Linked DNA regions of Homo sapiens: region 2 is linked to region 1. The links are contacts of gene promoters, found by promoter capture Hi-C in human tissues and cell types (Jung and others, 2019). All regions are on one chromosome and are shown on one strand. Each heading gives the region's core, a stretch centred on a gene start or on the middle of the fragment in contact. The rest is flanking DNA. Distances are from core to core; before and after follow the strand shown. Region 1 holds the start of SLC3A1 (solute carrier family 3 member 1). Region 2 overlaps CAMKMT (calmodulin-lysine N-methyltransferase).

Region 1 (7,048 bases), core at 3,673-6,172:
CCAAGGTGCAACTTTCTTCGGTCGTCTCGAATCCGGGTTCATCCGACACCAGCCGCCTCCACCATGCCGCCGAAGTTCCACCCCAATGAGATCAAAGTCGTATACTTCACGTGCACTGGAGTTGAAGTCGGTGCCACTTCTGCTCTGGCCCCCAAGATTGGCCCCGCGGGTCTGTCTCCAAAAGAGGTTGGTGATGACATTGCCAAGGTAACGGGTGACTGGAAGGGCCTGAGGATTACAGTGAAACTGACCATTCAGAACAGACAGGCCCAGATTGAAGTGGTACCTTCTGCCTCCGCCCTGATCATCAAAAGGAACTACCAAGAGACAGAAAGAAACAGAAAAACATTAAACACAGGGGGAATATCACTTTTTATGAGATCGTCAACATTGCTCGACAGATGCAGCACTGATCCTTAGCCAGAGAACTCTCTGGAACCATTAAAGAGATCCTGGGGACTGCCCAGTCTGTGGGCTGTAATGTTGATGGCCGCCACCCTCAGGACATCATAGATGACATCTACAGTGGTGCTGTGGAATGACCAGCCAGTTAAGCACAAAGGAAAATATTTCAATAAAGGATCATTTGACAACTGGTTAAAAAAGAACGAAAGCAGGGATTTATTGAAAATGAAAGTACACTCCACAGTGCGAGAGCGTGCTGAGCAGTGGCTCAAGGGCCCCGGATACAGAATCTTCTTGGGTCCAAATACCCTCTAGAAGTTTCCCATTGGCTACTTCATGCCCACCTCAGGTAAATGAAGTGGTAGCCCACAATCAGTCTGATTGATTGCAGAAAGCAGCCAACCAGAGGATGACGTGGTTACAAAAGTGACACTCCTGTGCAAACGTATGATTGGTTGCAGAAAGCAACCAATCAGAGGCTAGGGTGAAGTTACAAATTTATACTTCTATGCAAACGAAGACTCCGCCCGCAATCAGTCTGATTGGTTGTGGACAGCAACCAACCATTCGGAGGCTGGAGTGAAGTTACAAAGTTGCAAAGGAAGACTCAACCCGCAATCAGTCTGATTGGTTGCCAATTTCCCATGCCTGGCAGAAAAGGTGGGGGGTTTGCAAAGGGAGTAGCCTCTGGTCCTTTTGTGATTTAGGCATGTAAAGTTAGGGTTTTCCTTTCAGTTTAGTTCTAGGAATGCTGCGTGAAACAGCCTTAGGTTCCCTGCCTCCAATCCCTATATTCTCCTGCCTCAATACAACTACTTTCCAAAACAGTTTGGCAGTTTCTTAAACATTAATTATACACTTACCATATTATCCAGCTATTTCACTGCTAGTTGGTTCCTAAGAGAGAAGGAAGCTATATCCTTAGAAAGAGTTGTACATGATTGCTCGTAGCAATTTTATTTATAATAGCCAAAAACAAACGAAAAAAATCCCACATGCCCACTTATAAACTGTGGTGTATATTCTTTTTTTGTTTTGAACCTCACTCTGTCACCTAGGCTGGAGTGCAGTGGGGTGATCACAGCTCACTGCAGTCTTGGCCTCCTGGGCTCAAGCAATCCTGCCTTAGCCTCCTGAGTAGCTGGGATTACAGGCGCACGCCACCCCGCCCAGCTAATTTTGTATTTTTGAGTAGAGACAGGGTTTCCTCATGTTTGTCAGGCTTGTCCTCAACTCCTGACCTCAGGTGATCTGCCCGCCTTGGCCTCCAAAAGTGCTGGGATTACAGGCCTGAGCCACGGCGCCTGGCCAGGAGCAGAGGTTTAATAGGCGGAAGAAGGAGAAAGACAAAGGAAAATAGCTCTCTCTCTAGTGAGAAAGAAGGGACTTCCAAGAGGAAAAGGTCAGCTGGTGGATACGCCAGATTTTATAGTCCAGCTTGAGGAGGCCGTGTCTGATTTAGGTAGGGCTCACAGGTTTTTTGGGTCAGGTGTGACGTTTACATAGCACACAGGGAAGGCTGGTGGCCCCACTCTAATCTTATTATGCAAATGAACTCTCCACTTGGCCGGTGCCATCTTGTCTGCTCCTTACTGTACACGTGGCTGGCAGAGAAGGGGAGGTGCAGCCGCCATTTTGAACATGTCTAGTCCCAGGTAGTTCTTTCCTGTCGCATCCACCTGTGCAAGCTCCCGGCTTGCTTGTCTATGTCTGCAGCTTGACTTTACTGGCTGCTCTTTGTTAGAAAATGATTTGGGGCATGGCATGGTGGCTCACGCCTATAATCCCAGCACTTTGGGAGGCCGAGTCAGGTGGATCACCTGAGGTCAGGAGTCGGAGAGCAGTCTGGCCAACTTAGTGAAACCCTGTCTCTACTGAAAATACAAAAAATTAGCTGGGTGTGTTGGCGGGCACCTGTAATCCCAGCTGCACAGCAGGCTGAGGCAGGAGAATCGGTTGAACCCGGGAGGTGGAGGTTGTGGGTGAGCTGAGATCACGCCATTGCACTCCAGCCTGGGCAATAAGAGTGAAACTCCATCTCAAAAAATAAAAATAAAAAATATTCAATGGGCATAATTAATAATAATGAGAGGTATCACTGGGTGCATTCAATGAGCCAAGTATTGGGATTTACTCAGTTTTAAATGTAATTTGTCCAAGATCAAGTAGCTCATTCCTCCATACCTCTATACTATACAATGCTTCTAAGCCACTCCACAAAGAGACACTAAGATTAGGGCCCCAGATAACTATCATCATTTAAAAGAAAAAAAAGTCTCATTATCAGATCAAACGATTCATAGGACTGTATGTGCTCCTGATGAAAGGGACATCATAAATCATTACATTCCTTTTTGTTGTTGTTGAGACAGAATCTTGCTCTGTCACCCAGGCTGGAGTGCAGTGGCGTGATCTCAGCTCACTGCAACCTCTGTCTCCTCGGCTCATCTCAGCTCACTGCAACCTCTGCCTCCTGGGCTCAAGTGATCCTCCCACATCAGCCTGCCTCCTGAGTAATTGGGACTACATGGGTGCACCACCATGTTCAGCTAATTTTAAATTTCTTTTGTAGAGATGAGGTGTTACTATATTGTCCAGGCTGGTCTCCAACTCCTGGGCTTAAGCTATCTTCCCACTTTCTCTATTTAACCATGTATAAGAAAAATAATTTCCCCCCAAAGTCATTTTTCTTATACCTGGCTAAATAGAGAAAGCTTTAAGCTTTAAAAAAAGTTGTGGTAAAACATCTGTAACATTTCAGTGGCATTACGTATGTTTATACTGTTATGCAACCATCACCACTATCATCTCAGGAATACTTTTCATCATCCCAAACTGAAATTCTCTGCCCAATGAACAATAACTCCCCATTATTCCCTTCCTCCAACCTCCAGTAACCACGTTTCTATTTTCTGTTCCTATGAATCCTACTACTCAAGATACCTCATCTAAGTGAAATCACACTTGCCCTTTTGGGTCTGGCTTATTGCACTTAGCATAATGTCCTCCAGGTTCATCTATGTTGCAGCATGTGTCAGAATTTCAGTCCTTTATTTATGTATTGGAGACAGTCTCACTCCATCACCCAAGCTGGAGTGCAGTGGTGCTATCTCAGCTCATTGCAACTTCTGCCTCCTGGGTTCAAGCGATTCTCCTGCCTCAGCCTCCCAAGTAGCTGGAATTACAGCATATGTCCCCATGCCCAGCTATTTTTTTTTTTTTTTTTTTTGAGATGGAGTTTCACTCTTGTTGCCCAGGCTGGACCGCAATGGCGTGATCTCCATTCACCGCAACCTCCGCCTTCCAGGTTCAACCGATTCTCCTGCCTCAGCCTCCCAAGTAGCTGGGACTACAGGCATGCGCCACCACACCTGGCTAATTTTGTATTTTTAGTAGAGACGGGGTTTCTCCATGTTGGTCAGGCTGGTCTTGAACTCCCAACCTCAGGTGATTCACTGGCCTCGGCCTCCTAAAGTATTGAGATTACAGGCGTGAGCCACCGCGCCTGGCCTAATTTTTGTATTTTTAATAGAGATGGGTTTTGCCATGTTGGCCAGGCTGGTCTCCAATTCCTGACCTCAAGTGATCCACCCGCCTTGTCCTCCCAAAGTGTTGGGATTACAGGCGTGATCCACCATGCCCAGCCTTCATTCCTTTTCAAAGCTGAATAATATTTCACTATATGTATAACCACATTGTTTATCTATCCATCTGATGATAGCTACCTGGGTTGTTTCCAATTTTTAATTTTTTAATTTATTTTTAGTTTCATTTTATTTTTATTTTCTTTCTTATTTATTTATTTTATTTTTTGAGACAGAGTCTCCCTCTGTCACCCAGGGTGGAGTGCCATGGCTCGATGTCAGCTCACTGCAACCTCTGCCTCCTGGGTTCAAGTGATTCTCCTGCCTCAGCCTCCTGAGTAGCTGGGATTACAGGCATGCACCACCACGCCCGGCTAATTTTTGTATTTTTAGTAGAGACGGGGTTTCACCATGTTGGCCAGGCTGGTCTTAAACTCTTGACCTCGGGTGACCTGCCTGCCTCAGCCTCCCAAACTGCTGGGATTACAGGTGTGAGCCAAGATGCCCAGTGGAGATTTTTTTTTTTTTTGTGGGATGGATTCTCGCTCTTGTCGCCCAGGCTGGAGTGCAGTGGTACGATCTCGGCTCACTGCAACGTCTGTCTTCCGGGGTCAAACGATTCTCCTGCCTCAGCCTCCCGAGCAGCTGGGATTACAGGTGCACACCACCACGCCTGGCTAATTTTTATACCTTTAGTAGAGACGGGGTTTGGCCATGTTGGCCAGGCTAGTCTCAAACTCCTGCCCTTGGTGATCTGCCCGCCTCGGCCTCCCAAAGTGCTGGGATTACAGGCATGAACCACCGCGCCAGTCCCGAGATTTTTTTTTTAAACCTCTGTACTTTTACCCTTTCTTCCTTGGCTGGACTTTGTCCAGCTAGGTTTATTTATAAACCACACAAAGTTCATTAACAAGACCAAGCATTCAGCAAGCCACTCTTCCACCTCCCTTACTGCAGGAAGGCACTCCGAAGACATAAGTCGGTGAGACATGGCTGAAGATAAAAGCAAGAGAGACTCCATCGAGATGAGTATGAAGGGATGCCAGACAAACAACGGGTTTGTCCATAATGAAGACATTCTGGAGCAGACCCCGGATCCAGGAAGCTCAACAGACAACCTGAAGCACAGCACCAGGGGCATCCTTGGCTCCCAGGAGCCCGACTTCAAGGGCGTCCAGCCCTATGCGGGGATGCCCAAGGAGGTGCTGTTCCAGTTCTCTGGCCAGGCCCGCTACCGCATACCTCGGGAGATCCTCTTCTGGCTCACAGTGGCTTCTGTGCTGGTGCTCATCGCGGCCACCATAGCCATCATTGCCCTCTCTCCAAAGTGCCTAGACTGGTGGCAGGAGGGGCCCATGTACCAGATCTACCCAAGGTCTTTCAAGGACAGTAACAAGGATGGGAACGGAGATCTGAAAGGTACATGCCCAGAGATCATTTAGGGTGGGTGCCAGGATGAGATTGGTTTATGGTTCTTTTGTTCTTCAGAACCAAATTATGCCTGGGTTGTTCAGTAAGCACATTCCATTATGACTGGTCATGCCAAGTTGCTCCTTGTTTATGATATTCTTAGAAAATCACTCAGCAGAACCCAGCAGTTATTTTACTAGCTGAAGGGCTATTTGCTGAAGGCCTTTGAGCCAAACGAGTTGTTTAATTTATTGCCCACTAAGTACATACAGTTGTTCAGTCATCAATTCTAACTTCTTAGAGCAGCCTTCCTTCTAAAATCTATGTCCTGTTTCTGGGGACTTTATAGTTGAATATGTCAGGGTGGCAGTTGGGAATTGCTTTCCCAGTATACGAAGCAGCTAGTTTGGCTGTGTGGCTGGGAGTGTATTAGTGAATAAAGCATAAATAATATTTTTTTAAAAATCAAGTGATATCTGTAAAAAGTATAGGCTGAGTCTTAAAGTTTAAATTCTAAAAAAGGAAGGGAAGTAGAAAAGGGGTAGCAGTATGCATTCGTCATTACTTGAATTAAGGATTGTTTAAAACCATGTCCGTATTAGTATAAAACAAGTAAAGAATTAACCAGGGGTAGTGGCGCATGACTGTAGTTGCAGCTACTTGGGAGGCTGAGGTGGGAGGATCGCTTGAGCCCAGGAGCTCTCAGCCAGCCAGCTTAGGCAACATAGGGAGACCCCGTCTCCAAAAAGAAAAAAAAAAAAGTGAAAAATTATTTTTTAAAAGCTAAGTTAATTTCTTGGTGGGTTATGTGTAAAACATCCTTACAATATATTGCTCAAACCAGAACATACTTCAGAGTAAAATTATGCCAGATGGCAGGCATACACTGGGAACTTCTGAGCAAATTGGTTGGTATGGTCACTCTACTTCAAGGCAACAATAGGAAACAAATAAGGAAACTAACAAACTAATGTTTTACAATGATAATTGGTTTGAAGAAAACAAAACAGGATGATATGAATGTGGAAAGTAGGAATGGGCTTAATGTATCTTTAAAATGCTACAAATGAATTCTTGAAACCTGCAGCTTTCTTTAATCACTAGTAGAAGGCTTTTCTTTTTCACGCTCCTATCATTCTCTCTCTTCTTTTTTTTTTTTTTTTTTTTTGTGATGGAGTTTCACTCTTGTTGCCCAGGCTGGAGTGCAATGGCATAATCTCAGCTCACTGCAACCTCCGTCACCTGGGTTCAAGCAATTCTCTCGGCTCAGCGTTCCGAGTAGCAGGGATTACAGGCATGCACCATCATGCCTGGCTAATTTTGTATTTTTAATAGAGACGAGGGTTCTCCATGTTGGTCAGGCTAGTCTCGAACTCCTGACCTCAGGTGATTTGCCCCCCCTTGGCCTCCCAAAACTCTGGGATTACAGGCATGAGCCACCGCATCCGGCTGTATCATTCTCGTTTTAAAAATCATCCTGCATTGTCACTCATTGAAGAAGAGTGTATCTGTCCTTCATGGTGCAGCTCAAACCCATTGCCTTCATTACTCTTTCTTTAGCCTCCCTAATCAGACCATGGGCTCCCCACCCCAGATCTTCGGCTTTGGATGTGTTTCTAGCATCCTTTAATCCTGCCTTGAGTGACTCC
Region 2 (7,324 bases), core at 1,419-3,918, 420 kb after region 1:
TTTAGCCAATGCTTTTATGGAGGCCCAAAGGATGAAGGAGGCCTTTCCTCCTATGAAATAAACTCATTTGATTTATACAGAAAGCACTAAAGAATAGGAAATGATATGCTTCTTAATAACGTTTATAACGTGTTTAGAGAATACTTTACCTAGAATAAACTATTAATTTAAAGTTTGGGGATGCTTTTTTAGATTAACACTTTAGCTACTATAAATGCCACTTTGGGCATTCTGCAGCACTTCATTGAGTGACGTCAATAATGTAGCAGAAGTGCTATAATTTTCAGATAAGCATTATAATCTATTTTTTTAAACTTTTATTTTAAGTTCAGAGGTACATGTGCAGGTTTGTTTTACAGATAAATTGCATGTCACGGAGGTCTGGTGTACAGATTATTTCATCACCCAGTTAATAACCATAGTACTATAATATTATTAAGGGAACATAAGAACCTTGGGATCTCATCATTAGTGTTCTTGTCTTGTACGTCCTTCTCCTAAAAATTATTCTCACCACCTTTCCAATGAATTTCTCTCTAGTCTATGAAGTCCCCCTACTCACTATTCTTCCAGAATGAGTGAATGAAACCCCACCATTCTGAGCTTAAAGCATTGATGCTAAAATGTACTCTGGAAGAGATAAGAATATGTCTTGGATTCCAGAACTGTCCTACAAAACTATATTCAAAAGACCATGCATTTCTAGGTTTCAGGTAAACTTGGAGACTGAACAATGCACTCCTTTAAGAAACCTCACTAAACCTCTACATAGGGATGTTTTTTAAGGCATAAACCCACGTGAATGACACATTGGCCATTTTAAGGGGCAGCATGCAATAGCAATAAAATTTTGGAAGCTGGAAGGCAAATGCATTGACTTAGCAGATATGAGAAAGCCAGCAGTTGGCAAAGCTGAGAATCAACCCAATTTAAACTTCTGGAGCCTTGAAGGCTCGGAAATCGGTGGCATCAGATGTAGCTGGTTCTCCGTATCCATGGATTCTGCATCTGAGGATTCAGCCAACCTCTGATCCAAAATATTCAAAAAAAAAAAAAGACTAAAAATAACACAAAAATTTTTATTTTATTTTATTTTTTGAGACAGGGTCTCACTCTGTCACCCAGGCTGGAGTGGAGTGGCGTGATCTCGGCTCACTGCAACCTCCAACTCCCAGGTTCAGGCGATTTTCCTGCCTCAGCCTCCCGAATAACTGGAATTATAGGCGTACACCACCATGCCTGGCTAATTTTTGTATTTTTAGTAGAAACGGGGTTTCACTATGTTGGCCAGGGTTGTCTTGAACTCCTGACCTTAAGTGATCTGCCCGCCTCAGCCTCCCAAAGTGCTGGGATTACAGGCGTGAGCCACTGTGCCCGGCCAAAAATGTTTAAAAACATTATAGCAAATATTTACATAGCACTTATATTGGATATGCATGCAAATACTACATCATGTTATATAAGGGACTTTAATATCTGCAAATTTTGGTATGGAGTGGAGGAGTCCTAGAACTAATCCCCCACAAATATTGAGGGGCAGTTGTACTTCTAAAAGAAGGAGTTGAAGGGGATGAAACTAAGGAGAATTGATTGAAAGTTGTTTAAGAAGTAGTTATATCCCCATTTCAGGTGACTGGGCAACTCTTCTCCCTCTACTCCAACAAAAAACTGGAGGTTTATTCTTTGGAGAGGGTTAAACTGGGGATTTTGGGCTTGGGAGACACCAGGTACAGTTGAAAGCAGAGAATACGAAAAGCCAGGTGGAGTGACTAAGTGAACATATGCAGACTGAATGATGAGCCCCACACCCTCACCCCACTCACCTACACTCAGCCTTCTTTACTTCCAGAATTACCAGATACCTGAGGGAAGCTTTTAATGTGACAGATAACAAAACCAAGAAACAGAAAAAAACAACTTGAAAAAAACAGACTTTATAAAGATGAGAAAACTTAAAAGAAACTATAATTAATACTTTCAAATAATTAAGACATTGCATTCATGAAACAGGAATAGGATGCTTATAAAAGAAACATTCAGAGAATGACCATCAATAACAATAGCATATATTAAAAGAACAATAAAAAGGTTAGAAGATAAAGTTGAGGACATTTCCAAGAAAGTAGAAAACAATAAGAGATGCAAAGCAAGAAAGAAAAGATTTTTTAAAATAAAAGGATGAGTTCAGGAGATTCAACATCCAAATAATAACAGTTGCAGAAGAAGAGAACAGAGAAATATGGAGTAAGGAAATAATCGATGATACTTTGTAAGAAACTTTCCAAGAACTGAAGAACATGGAGTTTCTGGATTGAAATTACCCACTGAATCATGCAAGTTCTTAAACATTTACCTCTCCTACCCCCTTTTTCAAGAAACTACTGGAGGACGTGTTACACTAAAATGAGGGAATAAACCAAGAAAGAGGAAGACAATGGGTAGAGGAAACAAGAGATGGAACCCAGGAGAAAGGCAAAAGGAGCCTGGGATGATAGTGAAGATTAGGCTGTCAGCTGTGTACCAAGCATAGAGGGCATTCAGTCCAGACTAAGGCAGGTTAGAAGATACCAGGAGAGATTTCCTCATAAGGTTGATAGAACACCCATTGTGAATGAATGTATTGAGAGGAGAAATTGACAACTGAAGTTTGAGGTTGCCTAAAAATCTTAGCAAATGAGGGGGGAAAAGACCTTTATAAACTCCAGAGAAAACAAAAATGTGTGCATGAAAGAAAAAACAATCATAGTTTACTACATAGCTGTTTTATTTCCTAGTCATAATAAAATCAACTGGGGAGTGATCTTACCAAAATTTTAACATTATAACTATTATTGTAATATTAAAATATAATATTAAGCAGATGGCGTGGGGTGGATAAGGGGCACACATATGTGATGTGGGAAGAGGAATAGAGATAAAAGCAAAAAATGCTAATTTTGCACAGTGAGGGGTCAGTAGATTTTGCTTGAAACTGAAAAATCAAGAAGCAACAATACAAACTTATTATGTAGAAATATAAACACAATTACCAGAAGAGTTAGCTAAAAGAGTTGAAAGTAATAGTTTCTGGGGAAGCAGAAATACTGGGGAAAGGGGCTTGGTGCTACTGTTTGTCTTAGCCATTCTAATAGATCCCAATGGCTCTTTAAACTATGTGTCTCTATAACTAATTTGAAAAGAAAATCTTTTTGAAAGGCAATTTTATTCCCACAAATAAGAATGAGAAAACTTTAAAAAGTAGCAGCTTTATTGAGATATAATTCACATACCATACAATTCATCCAGTGGTAGTTAGTGTATTCACACACTTGTGCAACTGTCACCACAATTTTAGAATATTTTGTCACCTCCAAAAGAAACCTTATACTCATTGGCAGTCATGCTCCATTTACACCTAACCATTGTTGCCCTGGGCAGTTACCATGCCACACTCCATCTTTATGAATATACCTATTCTGGATATTTCATATAAATAAAAACATACAACATGTGGTCCTTTGTAACTGGTTTCTTTCACTCAGTACAGGCATACCTTGGAGATATTGAGGGTTTGGTTCCAGACCACTGCAATTAAGTGAATATCACAATAAAGTAAGTCACACAAATTCTTTGCTTTCCTGGTGCATATAAAAGTTTGCACTATACTGTAGCTTAAGTGTGCAATAGCATTATGTCTAAAAAGATGCACATACCTTACTAAAAATACTTTATTGCTAAAAAATACTAATGATTATCTGAGCTTTCTGTGAGTTGTCATCTTTTTGCTGGCAGAGGGTCTTGCCTTGATGATGGCTGCTAACTGATGGTTAGCAGGGTGATGGTTGCTGAAAGTTAGGGTGGCTGTGGCAATTTCTTAAAATAAGACAATGCAGTTTGCCACATTGGTTGACTCTTCCTTTCAGGAAAGATTTCGCTGTAGCATGCGATGCTATTTGACAGCATTTTACCCACAGTAGAACTTCTTTCGAAATTGGAGTCAATCCTCTCAAACCCTGCCACTGCTTTATCAACTCAGTTTATGTAATATTCTAAATCCTTTGTTGTAATTTCGACAGTGTTCACAGCATCTTCACCAGGAATTGATTCCATCTTAAGAAACTACCTTCTTTACCCGTGCGTAAGAAGGAACTCCTCATCCTTTCAGGTTTGATCATGAGATTGCAGCAATTCAGTCACGTCTTCAGGCTCCATTTCTCATTCTAGTTCTCTTGCTATTTCCACCTCTCAAAATCATCCACGAATGTTGAAATCAATTCTTCCAACTCCTGTTAACACTGATATTTTGACCTCCTCCCATGACTCACAAATGTTCTTAATGGCATCTAGAATAGTGAGTCCTTTCCAGAAGATTTTCAACTGACTTTGCTCAGATGCATCAGAAGAATCACTGTATTTGGCAGCTATATCCTTATGAAATGTATTTCTGAAATAATAAGATTTGAAAGTCAAAATGACTCCTTGATCCATGGACTACAGAATGGATGCTGTGTTAGCAGGCATGGAAACAACATTAATCTCCTTGCATATCTCCATCAGTGCCCTTTGGTGACCAGGTGCATTGTCAATGAGCAGTATATAATATTTTGAAGGGAAGTGCTTTTTTCGGAGCAGTAGGTCTTAGCAGTGAGCTTAAAATATTCAGTAAACCATGCTATAAACAGATGTACTATCATCCAGGCTTTACTGTTCCATTTATAGAGCATAAGCAGAGTAGATTTTGCATAATTCCTTTTCTCTTATTTTTTTTTTAAGAGACAGGGTTTCACTATGTTGTCCAGGGTGGAGTGCAGTGGCTATTCACATATTCAATCCTAGCCCACTACAGCCTCCAGCTCCTGGGCTTACTCAAGCAATCCTCCTTCCTCGCCCTCCTGAGTAGCCCGATAGGCACCTGCCACTGAGCCAGGCTAGACTTAGCATAATTCTTAAAGGCGCTATGATTTTTAGAATGGTGCAGAGCATTGGCATCAACTTAGTCACCAGCCGCACTAGCCCCTAACAAGAGACTCAGCCTGTCCTTTGGATCTTTGAAGCCAGGCAGTGAATTCTCTCTAGCTACCAAAGTCCTAGATGGCATCTGCTTCCAATGGAAGGCTTCCAATGTTTGTCTGCATTGAAAATCTGTTGGTTAGTGTAGTCATCTTCATCAGTGATCTTAGCTACATCTTCTGGATAACTTGCTACAGCTTCTACATCAGCACTTACTGCTTTGCCTTGCACTTTTGTGTTACAGAAATGGCTTCTTTATTTAAACATCTTGAACTAACCTCCACTAGCTTCAAACTTTTCTTCTGCAGATTCCTCACCTTCAGCCTTCATAGAATTGAAGAGTTAGGGCCTTGCTCTGGATTGGGCTTTGGCTTAAGAGAACGTTGTGGCTGGTTTGATCTATCCAGACCACTAAAACTTTCTCCATATCAGCAATAAGGCTGTTTTGTCTTCTTATCATTCGTGTGTTCACTGGAGTAACACTTTTAAGTTCCTTCAAGAACTTTTCTTTTACATTCACAACTTGTCTGTTTAGTGCAAGAGGCCTAGCTTTCAGCCTATCTCAGCTTTCAACATGCCTTCTCCATAAGTGGAATCATTTCTAGCTTTTGATTTAAAGTGAGAGACATGCAACTATTCCTTTCACTTGAACACTTAGAGACCATTTGTTAAGTTTATTAATTAGCCTAATAATAGGGAGGCCTGGGGAGAGGGAGAGAGATGGGGGAATGCCGACTGGTGGAGAAGTCAGAACACACACAAGATTTATTGATTAAGTTTGCTAGCTATCTTATATGGACGCAATTCATGCCGCCCCAAAACAATTACCATAGTAACATCAAAGGTCATTGATCACAGATCACCATATCAGATATAATAATAATGAAAAATTTTGAAATATTGTGAGAATGACCAAAATCTGTCACAGAGACACTAGTTGAGCACATGCTGTTGGAAAAATGGCACCAATGGACTTGCTCGGTGCAGGGTTGCCACAAACCTTCAATTTGTAAAACTGTAGATATGCAGCATCTACAAAGCACAATAAAGAAAGCTGCAATAAAATGGAGTATTGCCTGTATAACGTTTTCAAGTCCCATCTATGTTGTAGCATGTATCAGTTCTTCTTTTATTGTCAAATAATAATCCATTGTATGGACGTACCACATTTTATTTATCCGTTAGTCAGTTGATGGACATTGGGGTTGTTTCCACTTTTGGGCTACTAAGAACAATGCTGCTATGAGCATTCGTGTACAAGTTTTTGTTGGACATATTTTGATTTATCTTGGGTAGCAGTGGAATTGCTGGGTCATATTATAATCTACATTTAACCTTTTAAGGAACTGCTACACAATTTTCCAAAGTGGCTACATGATTTTACATTCCCACCAGCAGTGCATCAGGGTTCCAATTTCTCCACATCCTCACCAGCCCAACATTCGTTATAACCTGACTATTTGATTGTAGCCATCCTAGTGGGTGTGAAGTGGTATCTCATTTAGGTTTTGATTTTCACTGAGATAACTTTTAAAAACTTAGATTAGCAAAAATTAGTTATGTTGAAAAAATCCTATCTGGGCAAGGCTTTGAGGAAACAAACACTCTGATTAGGAGTGTAACTTGGTGCACATTTTATGGAGGTCAGTTTGATATATTTAAATGCAAAATATATGTAACCTCTGACCAGATATCCCATTTCCTAGTATTTGACCTAAGGAGAAAACCATAGGTTGGGAAAAGATGGGTTGTCATATTGTACTACTGTTGATGTTAATGGCAAAAACCACAATTACTTTTGCATCAACACAATAATCTCATCATATCAACAACTTTGAAACTAACTTAAATGTCTGTCAAGAGGAAACTGGTTAAATGAATTCTGATTCACACATAGAATGTCTAAGCAATCATTATAAATAATGATGCAGGTAAAGTACATTTTTATTTTCTAGTAAAGCTATCTACCACATATTGAATGAGGGAAAATCAGGTTATTGAATATCTTCATGAAAAGATCCCATTGGTGTAAAATATCTGTTTGCCTAGAAAGATCTTTTGAGATGACGTCCAAAATGTTAACAGTGATTATATCCTAGTGGTCACATTTTACGTGATTTTTTTTTTTACTTTGTTCTTTGTATGTAATTTTGTTAAAAATCAGCCTCTATAATTTTTTGAGACAATTATAAAACTATTACAAAGTACTGCATTTTAGAAGTCGCATTTTTGTACTTAATCAAGGCTTAAATTTTAGTTAGATACTCTTTGTCTATCATTTTTTTAAAACCTCAAGCTAAAGGCATAAAGAAATTCATTATAGTGGTGATTATGT

What was found. The method cuts DNA at HindIII sites, captures the fragments that hold promoters and counts their contacts. A contact is called where the count stands out against the background at its distance.
Region 2: a contact is called between a fragment that was not itself captured here and the fragment with the promoter of SLC3A1 in region 1, in 1 of the 25 tissues and cell types used here (aorta).

The regions. Positions count from the first base shown.
Region 1 is chr2:44,270,558-44,277,605 of GRCh38, forward strand. SLC3A1 (solute carrier family 3 member 1) reads left to right here and starts at 4,923. Exons shown (of 10, transcript NM_000341.4): 1 at 4,923-5,408. The coding sequence starts at 4,979. It also overlaps the pseudogene RPL12P19. The HindIII fragment of the contact is 25,171 bases long and covers 591-7,048 here.
Region 2 is chr2:44,694,863-44,702,186 of GRCh38, forward strand. All of the region lies in intron 3 of CAMKMT (calmodulin-lysine N-methyltransferase), which reads left to right. Among named protein-coding and RNA genes, the nearest start is that of LINC01833, 240 kb to the right of the region's middle. The HindIII fragment of the contact is 7,126 bases long and covers 1-6,231 here.